Regions from separate parts of the Homo sapiens genome. Here region 2 is linked to region 1. Evidence: promoter capture Hi-C in 16 types of primary human blood cells and fetal thymus (Javierre and others, 2016). All regions are on one chromosome and are shown on one strand. Each heading gives the region's core, a stretch centred on a gene start or on the middle of the fragment in contact. The rest is flanking DNA. Distances are from core to core; before and after follow the strand shown.

Region 1 (7,261 bases), core at 1,546-4,045:
AATGAAGCAGAAATGAGTGGAAGATGACAGCAGAGTAGAAAACTCAAGAAAAAGAAGGTTGAATGATCTGCCATCCAGAAACCTGCTATAAATTAAAAATATGTTAATTGCATACTTATTATCTAACATAGAAAAATTACTGATTTTCACCAATGCATTAAACACCAGCATATAGTGAGCTTCTGCTTTTAATATAAAATATACTACCCGTTGTGATGAAAGGAAAAAGAGTTAGAAAAATCCTGTCCCTGCCCAACCCTGAGTGGTTTTATCACTTAGATCTCCACATAGTTTTTGACAATTAGGATAACAATTTTTGAGTGAAAGATAATGTTCTGAGCACAATAGAAAAAAAGGGACATATACAGACACGTGCAATCATCTTTATTACCTGTCACCTCTTCTGTGAAGCCCTGCTTATCCTTTTTTGGAGCAGTCAGAGGCCATGTCTTTTTCTTAACCATTCCTTCCTCTGTAATCCCATATTAATGAGTCCATTCTCTATTATAGCGTGATAACCTAAATGAGAGAGAATTGTATTCTTACTTGGTTAAATGGTGGGCAGGGTTCAGGTCATTTCATCTGTATGTTCCCAGAGAATGGCACAACACCTAGCACAGAAAATGCATCCAATCAATATTTATTGAATGAAATAATGCATTTAAAAATGACTGCAAATGTCAGCATCTAATTGCTTAAGATGATAGTTTAAAACTCAAGGGTGTAGTTTATACTTAAAACATGAAATGAGATCTTTAAAGTAAACCAATGTATTTTCAAAATCCTTAGTATCACAGGTTTTCTCATAGCTTTCAGAAAATAACTTCCATGCAAGATGATTTTACATTGTTTTCTGTTGATGCTTTAAAATGGCAAGGAGACAAGAAGGGGAAGTGTTCAACTGGGCTGCATGTTCCATTGTGATTTTATCAACAAAACATTATTACTGTATATTTTCAGTCTAGACATAGACATAGATCCAACAGTGCCTGTGAAATGATTATTATCATCTATGGAATGTTATTATCATCAATAATGTTTAGTTAAGAGTTTCAGCTTTTAAAAACTGTTACAGGGATTATCTCATTTAATCCTATAGCTGCTATATGTAGTGGGTACTATTCATATCACCATTTTATAGATAAGAAGAGAGGCTTAAAGAAGTTAAGTAACTTCCTTACAACCAAAATGTGACTGAATGAGAATTCAGGTAAAAATTTCCCCAAAATATTATTTATCCAAATATCTGTAACATGCTACTAAGTGCATCAGTCAGAAAATTTGTATAGCTTGATTAGCTCTGAGGTTCTCGAAGGTTGGAAATCATATATTATTTACCTTTGTATTACCAACACCAGCATTAGACACAGAATGACTAATCTATTAGACATTTGTTAATGAATGAAGTAATCTCCTTATGGGATAATAATAGTAACAATGAGAAGAAAAATAGAAATTCACAAAGTGGTGCTCTGCTTTCAGTGAGTTTTCATGAAAAGTTTAATGGTAATGAACGTTCATAAATTTGTCCAAGGTTAGAATATATTAATATGCAAATATTTAATTTGACATTTCATAAAAGAAAATTAAATAAGATGTGCAGCTAATTTATACAATTTTTTGATAAAAATACAGGGACAAGCACCCCAGATGCAGAAACATTTTAATCTCCTTGGAATTTTTGGGAGTAATATTGAGGTTGAGAACTGTATGGTCCGCCACATAAGATTTACAATCTGCAGGGTCCCTCCTTTATAAGGCCAGCCGTGCTTGTGTTCAAGGACAAAAGTTTAGCCAAATGACTTTAATCATTAGGACCTCATTTCCTGTCTGAAACAGATGAGCACCAATTATCTGCAAGATATTTTATGGTATACATGGTTAATGATTTAAGAAGTTATTTGCCAGAATATTTGAAATAAATTTACAAAATACACTTTAAGTATTGATTGAAATTAATCAACTTTTTGAAAGATACTAGGCCTGCAACAGAAGTCACGGTGAGGGTTGAGGAAGGCTAACTATTGTCACTTCTGTAGCTGAGGATAAGGCAATAAATTACTCTCTTAATTTTTAAGAAGAAAAGGCATTTTTACCATCTATGTTATTCTATGTAGAGTAGAAATTCTGGTACATCCAAAATATTAAAATTGTTTGTCTAAGAGATATTTACCAAGATAAAGACAAGAAGACTTTTTACAGAAAAAGAAATGCATCATTTTCTTCGAAATAACATTAGAGGAAAAAACCTGTGAGACATGAACAAAGACCTACTATAATGAAAAACATATTTTAAACAATAACCATTCAAATATAGTTTAACACTTAAATAATGTTCACTTTGACCAGTTTGAAAGAAGACTCTGTTTTCATTTTGGAAAGCAGTTCCAACAGGTTACCTAACAATTTGACATTTTTCTTAAAATCGCAAATTGTTGAGAAACTTCAGGAATTTTCAAGTAAGAGAATGCCCTGCTGTTTGGAAACAAGGTAACAGCAAAGCATAATCATATTGTAAAGAAACATTAACATCACTCTCAGTTTGTAAATTGGGTTTCCCCCTTACAGCTACGTAAGGCATTTTTTTCTAAAAACTGTAGTAAGATAAAAATCATTGATTAATTAAAGACAAACTTGTTTCTTATAGTGTTTAATCATCCAAATACCTTAAATCAGGTTCTTACTTACCTCAAGATTGGTGTGTCAAGCTCTCTCTTTTGTTCTTTTGGTTATGTTTTAAACCTGCATTGGGTTAGAACTTGTTCCTCTTTTTCACTTTGGTGGGTTACTTCCTTCTTTCCCTCCTTCGTTCACGCTATTTAATACTTGCAAAGTTTCCTGGCTCTAGAGGAAGTCAGTATCAGATGCAGCAGAATTAAGATAAATGGCGTGAGGTTTTGAATAAGGAAGTCTGGCCCTTCATCTTTGTCAAGTAATAGTTTTTTAACTGTGTCAGAAAATAATACGTAAAGCCTACATGGTTTTTTATTTGGGCCATATTTGCAGTTCCCACTTTAATATCAATAAAAGTCACTTCACTTGTACTTTGATTTTTTAAAAAAAGAAATATTTTAATTGTAGTAACACATAGGTCTTGGGCTTTTATTATTATTATTATTATTTACTTGTGTTGCTAGACCAGTCCTCTCTTCAAATATTAATATTATGTACCAATGCTCCCAAGTTATAGCCATACAGGTCAAATCAGTGTCCCAATTTGGGTTTGGAAAATGTTAACGTTCTTTTAAATTTATAAATAGGAATTTCCTAAGGTATGTTTTGAGGCCCATTACCCCTGAGATATGCTAGCAGCTCTTCCATCAAGTAAATGTGGGGAATACTGCTTCCCTGGAGATTCATGGGTACATCAGCATGCTAAAGGCTCTCAGCAGTCTTACAGCCAGCAAACAAAATAAAACCAAATAAGAAAAAGAAATTGTTTAACTTTGCTTAATAATAGTAGTCAGTATGTTCCTAGCACTAAGTACTCCAAACCTTTTGTGTAATACTCAGCAAATCTTGGCAACAACCCTGTGAGGGAGAAAAACTGTTATTAGTCCTATTTTACAGAAGAGGAAACAGAAGCACACAGAATGATCACTTGCCCGACAGAGCCTGCAGTTTGCCCCCAGCACCTGTGTGCTAAACCACTGCACTGGCTGCCTTGCTAGATTGAGTAACATGTTTCCCACATAGATACGCTTACCAAGAGCATCTCTTGGAGTCCAACTCATGGGAACACACACAGTGGGAGATGCTGAATTAGACAAATTACAGATGAATTCGACAGATGAGATGACAAAGTAATGGAAAATTTGTCTTTTAAGTTGTCTTGGAACTTTTTGAACCACAGAGGATTAACTTTGCATAAGGTGGTTTTAAAAAAGAGGATTTAGTTACTGAAATAACTACTGGACATTGGAAGGACAGGACGTATTATTAACACTTGCTGAGCACTGACATTATGCCAGGCATTGTGCTAAGAGATGAGGATGCAAGAGTGAATAAGCTCCCTGCAGCACTTAAAGCCAAGTAGAGAGGCTGCTGCGCCCACAGAACATTTCAGATCAAAGTGATAATGCCTAAGAAAGACAGGATTATGGACAGGGACAGTGGAGGTAAAGGAAAGAGGCATCCAGCTCAGAGGGTGGTCAGGGAAGGCAAGACCTGAGCTAAGCCTCATAGAATAAGGTGTTAAGGCAGAATAGGGGTGTCCTGGACAAAAATCTTACAGTGAAGGAGGTTATGAAGTTGTGAAGCTATGAACTTGATGTGCTCCACATTCTCACCACTATATTTAACTTCAGTATTAGCCACCCCTCCAAATAATATACACACTCACCTGCCTAGGCATACATCTGTAAGAAAGGCAATTTATACAATGTTTGTATAAAATTATGATTTTCTCTAGAAGGCAGGACAACTGGTGCTCATTCAGCTTTTGCCCTTTGAAGTTAAAAAAGTTGCTTAACCCCTTATTACTTTAGTTTTTCTAACGGAAAATAAAATGGAGGGAAAATGACTGGCACTTTCCTCAAATAGAATTTTTTTGATGTAATGGATATAATTATTCTTCAAGTTTATAAAAGAAATGCTGTATATATTCAAAATAGAATTATTGGATCATTGTCATTTGTAGGGATTATGTTTTATGTCTTGAATTCTATATTTTCCTACTTCCCAATCTTTGGCCTCGCAAAATACATATTTATTGTCTCCTTTCAGTTCCTTTTTAATCACAGCAATTATGTCTAGGTTTTCTTTTCCTGCTTTTTCTTCTACAGTTATACGGTTTGGGTAGTAAAGGGCTTAGGAAGTAGTTTATTGTTCTGTAGTGTAATATGGACTGGATCTTTCATCTAAGTAAATCTTCCTCTCCTATTAATTGGTGATAGCAACCACTTTACTTAATTGTGATTTAAGTTCCCAGCAATTTCTTGTGTGTCAGTTAGTATCCATTTCTTTTAACCCATGCCCTTTTTCAGATACTTGAACTGAGTAACATTAGTGACGGTAAAAATGAACAAATGTTTGTGTATGTGAATTTTATTTGAAAGCTTGCCAGACTAAAAGCATCTTTCTGGCTATTTTGGAAGGAGCCGCCAAACCCCATGCTACTTGTTAAGGGTATCATGGGAATTTACATTTTAGCATAAAGCATTATGTTACCTCGGAAAGGTAATGCATTTAGTAGCTAACAAATTTATTAACACTAATCGGTTTATGGGATTAACCAAAAAGTAACTAGAGTTTTAATAGAATGTGTCACTACCTTCCAACTAAAAGTTTTTCACTCTGTGGCCCAAAGAGTTATAAAAATTTTAAAGCGGCTGGGTGCAGTGGCTCACGCCTGTAATCCCAGCACTTTGGGAGGCTGAGGCGGGCAGATCATCTGAGGTCAGGAGTTTGAGACCAGCCTGACCAACATGCAGAAACTTATCGCTACTAAAAATACAAAATTAGCCAGGAATGATGCAGCATGCCTGTAATCCTGGCTACTCAGGAGGCTGAGGCAGGAGAATCACTGGAACCTGGGAGGCAGAGGTTTCGGTGAGCTGAGATAGCGCCATTGCACTCCAGCCTGGGCAACAAGAGCAAAGCTCCGTTTCAAAAAAAGAAAATTTTTTTTTAAAGCAAAAAAACTGAGCAGCTAAAGATGAAGAGAGAAAACATGAATAGGAACAGGTAAAAATAAAACCATTGTTGCTTTAGTTATGCTTAGGGCCAATCCTGGTAGCAGTTGGCAAACTTAAATCACATAATTTGTAGAGTGTAGGGGATGGATTTTACTGAAATGGGTCTCAGATGTTCATCAAGAGATTCATTCCCAAACTTGAATGTTTATCAAAATCATTTATGAAGTTTTAAACAAATACGTAAATTTCTAGGACCTTGAAGATTCTCCTTCATTACTTCTGGAGTGGGGCCCAGAGATCTTTATTTTAAAACCTTAGAACAACATTTAGGAATTTATGGGTAGGAAAATGAGATATTATGCAGACTGTGAGGGGAAAGATGTTTACATTTTATTTTACAGTCTTTTGTGTTATTTGATATTTTCCACTAACATATGCCACTTTTGTAACAAAACAAACTTTAAAGCCTCCCCAAGTGATTCTGATTTGCAGCCATGTTTGGAAACCACTGATGCAAATTAACCCCCTGGCTGAAGTGCAGATAACTGATGTGATTTAATCCATAGCCTCCAGCCTAGAAAGCAGAAGCCTGGTCTGGATATAAAAATCCAGTCCCTTCATTCTGACCCAGCACTTCTCTGTTGTACTACAACACTATCTCAATGCGGAATAGATGAGAAAAACATTCTTAGATGTCCCCTTCAATAGTCTATCTTTTTTTTTCTTCTTCTTCTTCTTATATCATGAGGAGTTGGGGAGATATACATACACAAATAACAAGAAGTTGGGGAGAAGGAAAAAGGAGAGCAAAATCCATCAGGGTTCCCATAGGAATGAGCTACGAAAAGCATAACCCTACTGGCGGACCCTTTTAAGACATGAAATTTGCCACCTGGAACACTTCTCTGGCCTAAAATGATAAACATTATTATGGTTCATATGACAACTTAGAAAGGTTAAATTATGGTCTGGGACTAAAAGAGAAGATGCCGAAAGAAAAAGTAAAAAGACCCAGGAATTTCATTCATTGAGTGTACACACCCAATAGAAATAAGTATCACTTCTTTTTATAACAGCTTTAGGCATAATAACTCAAGGCTCTAGAAATAACCCAAAGGTCCATCAATAGTAAAATGAGTGAGTAAAGCATAGTAAATTCATGTGATGGAATACTACACAGAAATGAAAAAGAACAAACTATAATACTAATATACACAACATCAGGATGAAGCTCACAAACAATGCAGAATTAAAGAAGCCACATACACAACACTATACACTGTATGATTCCATTTATATGAGATCAAAATTACATAAAACTTATCTATGGATATATGATAGAGGTCAGAAGAGCTGTGGTTACTATAGATCTAGTGATGCATCAGAGAGCCTTCTTGGATGCTGGGAAAGTTCTGTATCTTGATCTTTGTAGCAGTTATGAGATGTATTTTATGTAACCATTCATTAAGCTGTATATTTAAAATTTGTGAACTGTATGTAAGTTGTATTTTAATCCAAAAAGAAATTGGGAATGAATAAGAGAATTCTTATATGTTATAAAAATGGAGATAATTAGATATATATTTTTATTCATCCAGATTACCATCTTCTTTGGCAAGCTGGTC
Region 2 (7,261 bases), core at 2,790-5,289, 270 kb before region 1:
CGGCCTCCCAGAATGCTGGGATTACAGGTGTGAGCCACAGCACCAGGCCCAATTTAATATGTTATTAATTAAATTTCAGGAAGAAAAGAAAATCCTGCAAAATAATACACTACGTCTTTAAATATCCCACTGACGAGATGATACTAACAGGAAGTAACAACCATTGTCTAGATCTTCACTGTCCAATATGGTCACCTTCAGCCACTCATGGCTCCTAAGGGTTTGCACCATGATTTGTCCAAATTGCAATGTGCTGCACATATAAAGTACACACCAGATATTGAAGACTTAGTACAAAAAAGTAGCTCATTAATTTTTATATTGATTATATGTTGAAATGATAGCTTTTTAGATAAACTGAGTTAAATAAAATACATTTAATTTTACCTATTTTTTTTTTTTTTGCTTCTAAAAGTGGCTGCTAGGGAACCAAAAATAACATATGTGGCTCAGATGATGTTTCTATTAGTCAATGCCATACTAGCAAATTAAGTGAAAAAATTTAATATTATTTTACTAAACATTATTGACATATTCTTGGGCTTCATATCTATGCTAGAGAAAAATAAAATAAAGAGAAAAGAATGATCATAAATTGAAGAGCAGGTACCTGGGAATTCATACAAAATTAATATGCTTTCTTTTATGAATAGTCACACAACATTTGACTGTCATCACTTACAGTATATAAAGACAGAAAAGATAATGAAACAGCTGCATTAAACAACTTAAAAATCAATGAGCATTTATTTGGTTTTGTTGTACCTTGTGTCCCTGATGGAAGGCAAGCAAAGTCTGGAGTGAGTGTGTACATGTGTGTGGGTATGTGTGTGTATGTCAAAGTTCAGGGTTTCCAGGAGGACATAAAAAGAGCTGAGCATTCAAAATGAAGAGATACAAGCTTAGCTAAGCTTTCTAGAGATATGATTGGTTACCTTGGAAACAGTTCAAATTCTTACATCAAACAAGATCCTAGAAGTTGACCTAGATTTTTCAGAACCAGTAACATAATGTATTTAAAATGTTTGTTACCCCCAAATTAAATTTAAAAAATATTTGTGGGATAGCAAATGCTTACTTTTATTAATTGTATAATTTTTATTTGTAAAGAAAGAACACATTATATAACTATCAGGTAAAAAGTCATTAATAGAAGATGAATTTAGCTTTCTCAGGGAATTATCTTCAATATATTTTACTAAAATAAATAATTCCATTGTTTTTTCTGATTTAATTGTAAAAAAATTCAATCAATACAAAAGACTGAAGAATAAAATGTGAAAAGTAGCCTTCCATTTGCAGTTCCAATGCTTTTGTCAGAGATATCCACAGTAAACAATGTGGTATATGGTCTTCTAAATGGTTTGTGCTGTGTGTGTGTGTGTGTGTGTGTGTGAGAGAGAGAGAGAGGGAGAGAGAGAGAGAGAGAAGGAATGTGATCATATATAACTCATGTTCTATAAACTGCATTTAAAATGCACAAATATTGTCTTCCTTTGGGAAATTAAAATGTTTAAGTGATGCTCGTTATCTATTTAACTGGAAGTCTTGCCATCAGCAAATAGACTCCACTGCCTACAGTGCTAATCATTTGACCTCCTGTACTGATGACTGATGTTTTTAGACACACGTGTTCCTGACATGTCTCCATTAACTAGACTGTAAGTTCCTTGGAGGCAGAAATGAAGTTGTTTTCAAGTGCACCATAGCATTTAGCACAGAGATCTGACCATCATGGGCTCTCAAAAACACTTTCTCAATAATCAGTATTTTTCATTTTTATCAGAGTACATTAGCTGATCATATAAGATATTCTAGGTCCTAAACATCAGACAAGAAGAAAGAACAGACTAGTTGTTTAATACCAACTGCTTACATGAATTGGCACTTGATTTTGGGGTGATATTCAGTTAAGTGTTTTGGTGATCCCTTTTTTGAGCATCATGATGCCTAAATGAGGCTTACAGTGAGCCGCCATGCTAAGTCCTTTACATAGATGGGCTTGCTTAATTCTCACAACAATCCTATGGTGTAGGCACTTTTAAACTTCCCATTTTACAGTGAAGAATCTGATGCATCCAAATCATTAAGTAGTGGTGTTGGGAAATGAATGCAGGCATCTAACTTCAGAACTCATATTCTCACATTCCATCCGGGAGCTCATATTCCAAAACTTTCATGACTTTTCTATATGGTCATGGTAGACAACAAGTAAGAGGCTAAATTTTTCATACAAACAAACACCCAAATCTGATGGACAAAAAAAAAATCCATTGCACATTTATCCTATGCATTATGTTGCCATTCACTGGGTCATACCCATCATGATCTAGTGAATGGCAATGGTCCCTTAGTGGGAGGGTCTCAAATAAGGGTGGACGGAACTAGGAGTTAGGATTGGGTAAGGTTTCTTATCTAGGTCAGGGAGACAGGAGAGGAAGGAAAGAACACTTGGCTTGATTCTCTCTGTTGCTCCTGTTAGTTCCACTTCGGCAGTGACATTTTTAGTTTCATTTTTAGTAACGAAGAACAACACTTACTCTGTGGCCTAATTTTCGTCCTGTAAATTTGCCATCAGGTAGTTTATGCTCTTATAGGCCAAATGACTCATCACTAATTAATCAATACCCATGATGCTAAATTTTGACCACAGAGTGAACCAAAGCCAAGTCAACCTGGCTTTCAGTTAATTGGAAAAATTAAATGGGTAAGAGAAGCCAGTTCTTCCAGGTATAAATAATGTGCTTTACAACTCATCTAGTTAAAGGCATCAGCAAAAATGTTTTAATACTAGCAGATTCGAAAACCACTCCATCCTCCTTTCTAATATGTAATTAAAGCTACAGTATGAATGCAAACTTGATAGGACAGAAATAATCTCATACATTACATGTTATAAAGAATTTGATATTAAATTTTATCATGGTTATCTTCTCTTCCGAGGACAAAATGTCTCTTTGGCATGTACCTACTCACTTGTTCCAAAATATTCACTGAGTGTAAATTATGTGCCAGACACTGGGGAGGCAGACAGTGGTGAACTAGGGGATCCAGGTATATGTGCCTAACTTCCTTGTGACGTTGCACCTATTGCATGCACCTGGATGCAGGGAACAGCTTGGGGTCTCTGGCTAACTTACATTTCTCTTTAAGTATCAGCTGCAACTCCAGAAAGGCTTTCTGTCCACTTGCCCCAACCCCACCACATCTGGGTTAGAAACTCCTTCTATAATCTCCCTCAGGACCCTGTACTAACCACTGTGATTACACTGACTACAGTATCTTGCCTAATTACTTGTTTGTATCCTTCACTGAAATGTACATTCCAATGACAGGTATTCCAGTGTCCTGGGACACAGTGCATTTTTATGAAATATTTGTTGAATGTTGGAGGGAGGTAATATTTAGTATAAAGCGGTTTGATTTGGCTATGTTATCATTTGTATCCTGGTGCAGAAGTTACTGATAGGTGGTCACTGGTTTGGAAATGTCAAATCTAAAGGCTGGATCCATGCAGGTGGCAACAGCAGACATGTGCCTAGTTATGAGGCTGCTGGAAACCAACTGGTCAAGGACCATGGAAAAGTATCCAAAAAAAAAAAAGTCCAAGGAACATTTACCCAGTGAAGCACCACTCAAACATTCATGAGAGATCACGATGAAGTGATCCTTCCAGATTTCATTTTACTTTAGTAATCACTGGCCTCTATGTTACTTTGGTCGTCATCCTTTATCTTAGCTCTGGTGTTTATGTTTACTTTTTTCCTTTTAAAACACCTTTCAAAACCTGCAATTCTTCTGATAGTGTATTTATTTCTTTATTATCTTCCCCATTTGATTGCAAATTCCCTAAGGATAGGGACCCTGTTTGTGCTCTCAGTTTCCAGAACGGTTCTCAACACACCAGTGTTTGACAGATCTATTGAAGAAATGAATTAAGGGTTTAACATGCGTATTAAAAAATATTCTTTTAGACTCTAGTCCTCAAATCTCTGTACATAACACATAAACAATATGTCTATATATATGAGGAAAAACAGGTTACATCTGTTTTGCCCACAGTTGTATCACCAGAATAGAGTATGTGGCATATTGTAAGTATTCAATAAATATTCACTAAATAAATGAGTAAATAAACCATTTAATTAAAATTTTATTTCCAATTATAAACTATTGGAAAAAATTTATAGGTCTATATCAATAATAAACAAATAAAGGCCGGGCACCGTGGCTCACGTCTGTAATCCCAGCACTTCGGGAGGCTGAGGCAGGCGGATCACAAGGTCAGGAGATCAAGACCATCCTGACTAACACAGTGAAACCCCATCTCTACTAAAAAAAATACAAAAAATTAGCCGGGCGTGGTGGTGGGCACCTGTAGTCCCAGCTACTTGGGAGGCTGAGGCAGGAGAATGGCGTGAACCCGGGAGGTGGAGCTTGCAGTGAGCTGAGATCGCACCACTGCACTCCAGCCTGGGCGACAGAGCGAGACTCCGTCTCAAAAACAAAACAAAACAAAACAAAACAACAACAACAACAAAAACAAATAAGTAGGGGAGCTTTTGCTTGAAGTAGAATTCTGAGAGCTGATGGCAGATGTGAAGAGAGTGCTGACACTGGAACATCATAATATTGCAACTGTTTTATTAAAGATCAGATCAGGCAAGATTCATCAATGGATGCTAAATCTAGAGGGAAATCTTGATGAGAAACTAGATACTAGCATGTTTTAAACTGTCTCTTTCAGACTATTTATTAGTTGCAGGGGAAAAAAATTATACAATAATTACCTAGTAGGGAAATCAGAAAACACTTGTATGGCTGATTAAAGTTAACATCACCAATGAAGGACAGATGGACGTGATGTGCTTTCAGATGTGATAGCCTGAGAAGGACACAACATCTCCTATGCAACATTCCAAAGAAGAATGCATAACTTGAAAGTGATCACGAAAGGCTATCTAAAAAACCCCAAACGGGAAATGTTTCATTAAAAAAAAGTTGGGGGCGGGTGTGGCAGTAATCCATTCTTCCAAAATGTCAATGTCAGAAAAAAAAGTCAATGTCAGAAAATAAAAAGAAAGGTTGTAGAAGTATTCCCTATTGAAAGTGGGTAAAGAGACATGGCACTTAAATGCTATACCTGATGACAGACTGGATCCTGTACCACAGAGGAAAATGCTATAAAGAACATTACTGGATCAAATGACAATACTGATGTATGAAAGGTAGATAAGAAAAAAGTATTCTATCAATGTTAAATATATTGAAGTTGGAGAAATGCAAATCAAAACCACAATGAGATACCATTTCATGCCAGTCAGAATGGCGATTATTAAAAAGTCAAGAAACAATAGATGCTGGTGAGGTGGTGGAGAAACAGGAACACTTTTACACTGTTGGTGGGAGTGTAAATTAGTTCAACCATTGCTGAAGACAGTGTGGTGATTCCTCAAGGATCTAGAATCAGAAATACCATCTGACCCAGCAATCCCATTACTGGGTATATACCCAAAGGATTACAAATCACTCTACTATAAAGACACATGCACACATATGTTTATTGCAGGACTATTTACAATAGCAAAGACATGGAGCCAACCCAAATGCCCATCAATGATAAACTGGATAAAGAAAATGTTGCAAATATACACCATGGAATACTGTGCAGCCATAAAAAGGAATGAGATCATGTCCTTTGCAGGAACATGGAGAAGCTGGAAGCCATCATCCTCAGCAAGCTAACACAGGAACAGAAAACCAAACATCACATATTTGGGTATTCAGACATGAGATTATCAGGCGTGACTTACAGTTTATAATGGTACCCAAAATATGATGTTCTCACTCATAAGTGGGAGTTGAACAATGAGAACACATGGACACAGGGAGGGGAACAACACACCAGTGCCTGTTGGGGGGTGGGGGGCCAGGGGAGGGAACTTAGTTGATGGGTTAATAGGTGGAGCAAACCATCATGGCACACGTATAGCTATGCAACAAACCTGCACGTTCTGCACATGTACCCCAGAACTTAAAGTAAAATTAACATACATATATATATATATATATGTTATATAGTAGTTATATATATATGTTATATATATATATAACATATATATGTTATATATATATATATATAACTACTGGGGCTAAGTAAGAGAATATCTACATTCTTAGGAAATATGCACTGATGTTTGGCGTAAAGGGCCATCATGTATGTGACACCTTCAATTTATTAAGAAAAAAATTAAGTATATAATTATGTGTATGTAACATGTATGGAGAGAGAGAACCATGGGGTGAGGTGGGTGGGGAAAGAAATAAACCAAAAAGCCAATTGTGTGAAATGCTAACAATAAGTCTTTCTGGGAAAAGGGTGTATGGGTATTCTTTACACTCTTTTTATATTTGCAACTTATCTATAAAATTTAAATTTTTTCCAAATAAAAAGTTTTAAAAAGTGTGCAAATGTCAATATGTATAATCACAGCAAATAAAAATTATTTCATTAAAAATACTTGTATGAGTTTTAATATTTCATCTGTTTAAGAATGTGATGTTAATTTGCATGGAAATTTTTTTAAACTGTCTTCTTTTGCATACTTAAAAATTGGTTTAAATTCAAAGGTGAGAGTAGAATAAAGTCAGTGATAATGTAAAAGTTTGCAAACTATTGCCTAGTACTCAGCAGTCCCCACACTTACCAGTTCTTTGGGATCCAAAATGCTGCCCAGTGGGCATTTTTAGAATGAGAGAGACTCTGACCTGCCCCTGCCTGGACAACACCATCATTAAGGAGAAACAGGTTTCTTTCCGCAGTACAAGCCCTGGCAGCAGCCATTCCCCTCCTCCAGTGCTGCAGTCTTGCAGATGCCATCAGCCACCCTTGCCTGGTCCTGCCTGCCCCGAGTCCTGATGTGTAGTCTTGTCTAGCCCCTAGTACTCTCTTGCAGTAGCCTATGGAGGTACACTCACTTCAGTATTCAGACATGAGATTATCAGGCGTGACTTACAGTTTATAATGGTACCCAAAATATGAACACCATTTCACAATACACATTACACAAAGTGTATCCCACTCTAAAGAACAGCAATCTATGTCAAATAAAAACAGATCACCAGATTAAAGGGAAATGATAATTGCAAGTAGACAATTAAGCTTTTATTACATCAGATTAGTTCAGGCTTACAACGGCATTGAATCAGGACATCAAAAGGCATTGCCCTAGAATAAGAAGTCAGAAACCAGCACTGTCTC

What was found. Contacts are between HindIII fragments. The CHiCAGO score rates a contact against its expected background, and 5 or more counts as called.
Region 2: a contact is called between a fragment that was not itself captured here and the fragment with the promoter of GAPT in region 1, in 2 of 17 cell types (neutrophils and M1 macrophages). The highest score is 5.8, in neutrophils.

What each region holds. Positions count from the first base shown.
Region 1 is chr5:58,486,969-58,494,229 of GRCh38, reverse strand. GAPT (GRB2 binding adaptor protein, transmembrane) reads right to left here and starts at 2,795. Exons shown (of 3, transcript NM_001304431.2): 1 at 2,689-2,795; 2 at 392-519. The HindIII fragment of the contact is 6,945 bases long and covers 1-5,059 here.
Region 2 is chr5:58,755,199-58,762,459 of GRCh38, reverse strand. All of the region lies in intron 3 of RAB3C (RAB3C, member RAS oncogene family), which reads right to left. Among named protein-coding and RNA genes, the nearest start is that of RAB3C, 180 kb to the right of the region's middle. The HindIII fragment of the contact is 6,251 bases long and covers 914-7,164 here.